2 separate regions of the Homo sapiens genome follow, and region 1 is linked to region 2. Evidence: promoter capture Hi-C in 16 types of primary human blood cells and fetal thymus (Javierre and others, 2016). All regions are on one chromosome and are shown on one strand. Each heading gives the region's core, a stretch centred on a gene start or on the middle of the fragment in contact. The rest is flanking DNA. Distances are from core to core; before and after follow the strand shown.

The links. The method cuts DNA at HindIII sites, captures the fragments that hold promoters and counts their contacts. A CHiCAGO score of 5 or more calls a contact.
Region 1: the fragment with the promoter of NECAP2 here is called in contact with the fragment with the promoter of DDI2 in region 2 in 2 of 17 cell types (activated CD4 T cells and total CD8 T cells); the score reaches 5.5 in activated CD4 T cells.

The regions. Positions count from the first base shown.
Region 1 is chr1:16,439,405-16,442,883 of GRCh38, forward strand. NECAP2 (NECAP endocytosis associated 2) reads left to right here and starts at 1,320. Exons shown (of 8, transcript NM_018090.5): 1 at 1,320-1,449. The coding sequence starts at 1,358. The HindIII fragment of the contact is 8,327 bases long and covers 1-3,479 here.
Region 2 is chr1:15,615,412-15,619,330 of GRCh38, forward strand. It overlaps DDI2 (DDI proteasomal shuttling factor 2), which reads left to right and starts at 2,047. Exons shown (of 10, transcript NM_032341.5): 1 at 2,047-2,397. The coding sequence starts at 2,260. RefSeq lists a silencer at 1,801-2,370. The HindIII fragment of the contact is 6,323 bases long and covers 629-3,919 here.

The DNA of each region.
Region 1 (3,479 bases), core at 70-2,569, 820 kb after region 2:
ACCCCCGTCTCTACCAAAAAAATACAAAAACTAGCCAGGCTTGGTGGTGGGTGCCTGTAATCCCAGCTACTCGGGAGGCTGAGGCAGGAGAATCGCTTGAACCCGGGAGGTGGAGGTTGCAGTGAGCCGAGATTGCACCACTGCACTCCAGCCTGGGCGGCAGAGTGAGACTTTGTCTGAAGAAAAAAAAAAAAAAAAGTAAAAAGGAGAAGGAGAGTGAGAGAGAAAAGGAAAGAAGGGGTGGGGAAAGTTTGGGGTATTCAGTGAATCAGAAGTTTGGGATCAGCTTCACCCCCACATAGGGGCTGGCACATTGCAGGCACTCAACTCAATGAGAGAATGGTAGGGAAGGAGGGATTTTGAGAATTTGGCTAGGGTAGACATTGTATCTCCCAGAATATTCTGGGAGAAATCGAAGTTAAGACTGGAATTCTTCTTCTTCTTTTTTTTTTTTTTTGAGACAGAGTCCCGCTCTGTCACCCAGGCTGAGGTGCAGTGGCACAATTTCAGCTCACTGCAACTTCCGCATTCCGGGTTCAAGCGATTCTAGTGCCTCAGTCTCCCAACTAGCTAGGACTACAGACACACGCCACCAAGCCCGGCTAATTTTTGTATTTTTAGTAGAGACGGGGTTTCACCATGTTGGCCAGGCTGGTCTCGAACTCCTGACCTCAGGTGATCCGCCCGCCTCAGCCTCCCAAAGTGCTGGGATTACAGGCGTGAGCTACCAAGCCCGGCCTGGAATTCTTCTTAAATTACTTGTGTTACTAAACTTTACTTCTTTGAATACAACTCGTTGTTGAGGTTTGGCCACACGGGGCCCTGAGCATATAAGTGGGTTCCCCTAGGGGAAGCATGGAGGGTGGTAGGGTAATGGCATCTATTTAGTCTGGTGGGTCAGGTGCCAGCTGAGCCTTACAGTCAGGAGAGGGAAGGATATTCAGGCAGAGGAGGCGCCGAGGCAAAGGCTGGAGGACAGAGATACTGCAGGGTGGGCTACAGCTTTGCCTCTCGGTCAACTGGGCCCCAGGCCTAAGAAACTGAAGCGATGGGGATGATCCACACCCAGACCACGGGTTACAGAGGGGTCTGTCCATGGCGGGCGCAGGGCGCTTTCTTTGCGTCGGAGGGTGTCTGGAGGGAAGGAGAAGCCTCTGGAGGGAGGGAGAAGCCTCCGGAGGTCGCCCGCCACGTGTCTTGAGCCGGGTTTCCAGCAGAGGGCGCACAAACGAGGCGGTGCTGAGGCCCGCGAGCTGCCGCTCTAGCCGAAACCTGGTCAGAGAGTCGCACCGCTTCCGTCCGTCGGACAGAGGAACGGTGGAAGTCGCCGGAAGTTCGGTGGGCTCCAGGCGTCGCGATGGAGGAGAGCGGGTACGAGTCGGTGCTCTGTGTCAAGCCTGACGTCCACGTCTACCGCATCCCTCCGCGGGCTACCAACCGTGGCTACAGGTGACTACCCACCGCCAGACCAGGCTAGCTCCAATTTAACCCTTTCTCCGCCACCCGGACACACCCACTGCGGGAACCGAGGACAGCCCTGGCCAGTTTTGGGGCGAGGGGGAGCTAATGCTGCTGCTTCTTCCAGTTCCAGGCCCGAGCAGGGAGGTGGATCCAGAGTTTCGCCCGTCTCAGTTCGACGCACGGGACTCCTGGCGGCGGGGAGGGCGTTAAAGCCGTATCTAGCGCTTAGGGACCCCGGTGGGCTGCCGGGTACCCTAAACTTGGTCGGGGGTGGTGATGTCACAGACGCTTCTCTTTCAGCGCTAACCGGTGGCCTTGAAGGGATCCTCGAAAAGCCTTAAGCGGGGAGGTGCCCTATCACAGACGGAAATCCCCGAGAGGAGGGGAGGGAGCCCAGAGCCGGCTGAAAGGACCGGTCCCGGGGAGCTTTAAGGTGACGGTCGAAGCCCAGGGACCCCTTCCTACCCAGATCCCTTCGCACGAATTTCACCCTTGATCACAGCCTGGAGCAGTTGGGAGGACCCCTTCTATATTTCTCTGGTCTCTACCTGAGACGAATAAACACACACGCTTGTAAACATACTGAGTATCTCTGCAAAGGAACACAGGAAACTGCCCTAGGGGAGGGGAACCGCCCTTGGAAGGAAACTTCCTTTCCCTTTTGTGCTGTTTGCGTTTTACTACTCTTTGTATGCGTTATCTATCAAAACGACGAAAAATATTAAAAGAAAAAAGATACACTTCATACAGACAACCTGGCCTATGGCTATTTTGTGCCACTGAGTGGTGGTGGGGAGTGCTCGTATTTGCGGGGGCCTGGGTGGCTCTTGAAGGCGATGGTTGTCCAAGTTTTTCGGAAATACAGGATTGGTCTGCACCCCAAGAATGATGGAACGTCCACATTTCCTCTTGTTACTTTCCAGTTGTGTTACCGTGGGCTCATAGCTGATCTTATGGTGAAAAGATGCGTTAGTGAACATTACATTCATGACATATTTTAAAATAGTATAAAAACAAAAACAACAATAACCAAAATACATTTGTTTTCTGTCATCAAACTGTGGTTGGACCATCAAACCATTGATGGTCGTCTAGCCCCATCTCCTGTTGGGTCTTTTTTTTTTTTTTTTGAGACAGAGTTTCCCTCTTGTTGTCCAGGCTAGAGTGCAATGGTGCGATCTCGGCTCACTGCAACCTCCGCCTCCCGGATTCAAGCGATTCTCCTGCCTCAGCCTCCCGAGTAGCTGGGATTACAGCCATACACCACCACACCCGACTAATTTTGTGTTTTTAGTAGAGATGAGATTTCTCCATGTTGGTCAGGCTGGTCTCGAACTCCCTACCTCAGGTGGTCCACTCGCCTCGGCCTCCCAAAGTGCTGGGATTACAGGCAGGATCCACCGCGCCCGGCCCCCTATTGGGTCTTTAGTAGGATGGATTTGGTTCCTCTTGGTGCCCCAGAGAGCGAGGTTATGAATTGTCAGGGCTGGCTGGTTTAGCTTAGAGGAAACTACCAGTGCCTGCACTTAAGTCTTGGAGCTCTCCTTAGCCTGAATCTCAGGCCTGGTAAGAGGAACAGGAACTGAGTCTGCTGATTTGTGAATTGAGAATCTGCATTTGTGCAGCCCTCAAGACAGCCGCGTCCAGGGTTCTTGAGAACTGGCATAGGGACTTCTAAGAAAAGCCTCCTGGAAACACCTGCGGTTCTTGCTATTTGGGGATTTAACTGACCTTTTCTTAGAACTAAAATGTGAAGTTAATGCTTTAAAAGAGTCAAAACAGCTGGCTGTGGTGGCTCACGCCTGTAATCCCAACACTTTGGGAAGCCTCGGTGGAAGGATCCCTTGAGCCCAAGACTTCAGGACCAGCCTGGGCAACATAGACCCTATCTCTATAATTTTTTTTAATTGGCCTGGTGTGTTGGTACACACCTGTAGTCCCAGCTACTCAGGAGGCTGAGGTGGGAGGATCTCTTGAGCTCAGGAGGTTGAGGCTTCAGTGAGCCGTAGTTGCGCCAC
Region 2 (3,919 bases), core at 797-3,296:
GACATTCACCCCACTTCTTAATGGGAGGGTTATCCAATCATGTTGTAGGAAGAGCATAGACGATGGGAGGCACTGTCATGGTCATCTTTGGAGAACAAAATCTGCCAGACCTGGGAACCTGAGCACCACTAGACCAAATATAACAATTAATCAATGATTCAAGCCTCAACTGATTCCTTGATACCACCACTGGGCAATCCTAGAACATTTCTCAGCTAAACTTGCTTCAATTTGCAATGGTTATTTCAAACATTCACTGTAGAAGGCACTGTGTACATCTTTCCTAATACCCATTCCCAGCCCCCCTTTTCCCTATTTATGTCCTTTAGGCAAAGCTAAATACTTGCGTTCCTAGCCTCTCTTGCATCTATGTGACACAATTCTGTCCAGTGAGATGTAAGCAAAAATGTGCACAGGGACTTCTGGGCAAGCTTTTTCCTTGAATAGGAAAATGATGCGTGCAGTGGAGGCAGCCAGCCATATATTGCAACCCTCAGGAAAAGGTCAAGACAATTACAAAAGTATTGGCCCTGATTTCAGTGAGCCACTCAACCAGTGCTGTTGCTACCTCCAGGCCTTCTCTCCTGTGAGAAAACAAACCCTTGTTTGTTTAAGCCACTGATAGTCAAGCTTTCTGTTGCTCCTAGGGGATATAAGCATTCTCACTCCCCTGTGCCTCTACTTTCTCTTTTTTTTTTTTTTTTTTGAGACAGAGTCTCGCTCTGTCTCCCAGGCTAGAGTGCAGTGACCTGATCTCGGCTCACTACAACCTCCGCCTCCCGCGTTCAAGTGACCCTCCTGCCTCAGCCTCCCGAGTAGCTGGGACTATAGGTGTCCGCCACCATGCCCGGCTAATTTTTGTATTTTTAGTAGAGACGGGGTTTCACCATATTGGCCAAGCTGGTCTCGAACTCCTGACCTTGTGATCCGCCCGCCTTGGCCTCCCAAAGTGCTGGGATTACAGGCGTGAGCCACCGCGCCCAGCTCCTCTAATTTCTCTTTGTAAAAGCCTTCAGCTGCTAATTCTCCCTTTCCTGCCACCAACAGCCTACTTACTACCTACTTACCTGCACCCACAGCCATCTTATTTGCTCCTTCTCTCCTGTTAAAATGGAAAAGGGCTCCCTACCATGGAGGGGGAGTGGGAGTAAATGGAAAGATGCTAATCTGGCATCCATTACAAGTTCATCTTTCAGTTTTGGTTTTCTTACTCATCCGCACCTTAGTTCTGGGCCTCTACCACTCATCAGCTGTGTGCCTTAAAAACAGGCCATTAAAGTAGCAAATATTTATTGAGTAGATTCTAAGCTGTGCCCAAAAAGGCACTGCGCTAGGTGGTAGGAGTTGCTAGGGCTAGGAAACAGACACAGTCCAAGTAGAGAGAAAATTATTTACAAGACAGGGGAATGGAGCCTTGGAGGAACTGACCTATGTGGCTGGGAGGGCAGAGAATGTGGGAAGAGCTCGGAAGAAGGGGCTGGGGAGGTAGGCGTGGGCCACAGCCAACTGGCTTCTGTAGACTAGGGAGGGTAATGATTTTGGTTTCAATCCTAAATCACTAAGACAGGAAGTGAATTACTCTGTCGGAGCCTCAATTTCTACCTCGAAAAATATGTTTTATTACTAACTCCTGTACTAGATTGAGAGTTACGGAGAAGGATTTATCCTTTTATTCATTTCTGCATCGCCAGCGCCCGACACATGGTAGGCGCTTAATCAATGCCTGTTCGGTGAATAAATAAGACCGGGGACTCCTCCACAGACTTCTGTCATTAAGTCAACCAGTCAGCAGAGATTTCCTTCTCCGCGTTCCTTTCCTTCCCTCCCCTTTTCTTGCCCTTCCTCCCTCTCCTCTTCCACGCCCCCTTCCCACTCCTCCCCCTCCTATCCTCTCCTGGCTTCCTCCTCCTCTTCCCGGCCCCGCCCCCCGCTGCGTTGCGAAGGCGGGGAAGGCGAGGCGGGCTTTACGGCAGCCGCGTTGCGGCGGGGCGGGGCGCCGGGCGGCCGGCGCGCTTGGCGGCAGCCGTGGGAGGCAGGCCGGCAGGCAGACGGACTCGCAGGCGTGTGGCGGCGGCCGTGCTTGCTAGTGAGGGCGGGAGGGAGTGACTCACTGAGCGTGTGTGAGGGAGGGAGCGAGCGAGCGAACGAGCAGCCGGCGCCGTCCTCCCGCAGCACCAGCCAGGCCACGCCGCCGCCTCTTCCCCTGCGCCCCGCGCCCAGGCCGGGCCGAGCCGAGCCGAGCCGGGTCGGGCCCGGGCCATGCTGCTCACCGTGTACTGTGTGCGGAGGGACCTCTCCGAGGTGACCTTTTCCCTCCAGGTCGACGCCGACTTCGAGCTGCACAACTTCCGCGCGCTGTGCGAGCTCGAGTCTGGCATCCCCGCAGCCGAGAGCCAGGTACGCCGGGCAGCGAGCCGGGCCTGCCCCGGAGCTAAGCCCTCCCCGCCTCGGGGCCTCACTCCCTCCCTTTGCTACTGGTGAAGAATTGGGGGCTGGGGGGAGCAAGGATAGCCATTCTCAGGTCACCCCCGCATCCGGAAAGGAGCTGGGGAGCTGGCATCAGTAGCTGCCCTCACACACTCCGAGCATGGGGTGGGGTACGAGGAGAGGGAGCGGAGAACCTGACCGCAGACGCACCCACTGCAGCGTGAGGGGCGCGTGGACTGTTGAGCAGCGCTAACCCTCCCCACCTTTGGCTCTTTGGCCCTTCCCTGTTTCTAATCCCGAGTGTAGGATATCGTTGTGGACCTCAGAAGCAGCCCTGGGTTTGCTAGGATTCATACATCCTGCAAACCAGAAATACCAGTTTGGATCACTGTGGTAGATAGATGTTCCTCTGCTTTTTTTTTTTTTTTTTTCTGGAGAGGGTTTCTGCTTAAATATACGCAGTTTACCTTTAAATGCACAGATTTGCACTTCCGGTGAAAGAAAAAGTTTAAGACTTGCACTACCTCATTTTGGGGTCTTTGGAAATGCTCTTTACCCACCACATGCGTTTCTGGTTAAATTCTTTTGAAAAACAGTACCTATTGGTTCAACTCAAGCTGTTTGTTTGTTTCGGTTCTACCCTGGTAGTAAGCCAGAAGGCCCTTTTTCTTTCAGGTCACAGTTCAGAGTTTGGGTCAGTTCAAAGCTCAATGCTTTAAAAGGATATTTGCTTGGAAACGGCCTAGTATCAGTGCTGTTTGGTGGTTTCATTTCCCTACTCAGCTTGCTGGAAAGAAGTTCAGCCTCTCATATTTTAACTAAGCAAAGTAATTCTCAAAATGCTTTGGGGCTGCCCCTAGTCTTTATCAAACAGAATCGGTGACACTAACGCTGTAAACTTTACACTAAAACACTTAGATCATGACTTAATAAATTTAGCCTGGAGGAAATAGTCTAAACATTAAGAAAATTATAGAGGTCTCCCAAGTCTCCATCAAGTAAATCTTGATTTTCTACTGCAGTTATGAAATAGTTTACAAAACGATTGCCCAACTGCAGCTTGTTCTGCTGTCTTATGGTAAACACGTGTCAATACTTTGTTCAGAAGTATGATTCCTTTACACAATGTGAACTTTAGAACCTTGGCATAAAGCTGTTCAGAAAGAATTTAAAAAGTTAATCCACAAAAGCTCAGGAACCAGTTCTGTCAGTGAATGCCTCATGTGGAGAACTAGGAAAGGACTGTTTAAATAGAGAAAATAAACTCTTCAATTTTTTTTCTTTTTTTGTTTTTGTTTTTGAGACGGAGTCTTGCTCTGTCGCCCATGCTGGAGTGCAGTGGTGCGTTCTCGACTCACTGCAACCCCAGTCTCCCGGGTTCAAGCGATTCTCCTGCCTCAGCCTCCTGAGTAACTGGGACTACGGGCGCGCGCCACCACGCCTGGCTAATTTTTGTAATTTTTTTTTAGTAGAGACGGGGTTTCACCATGTT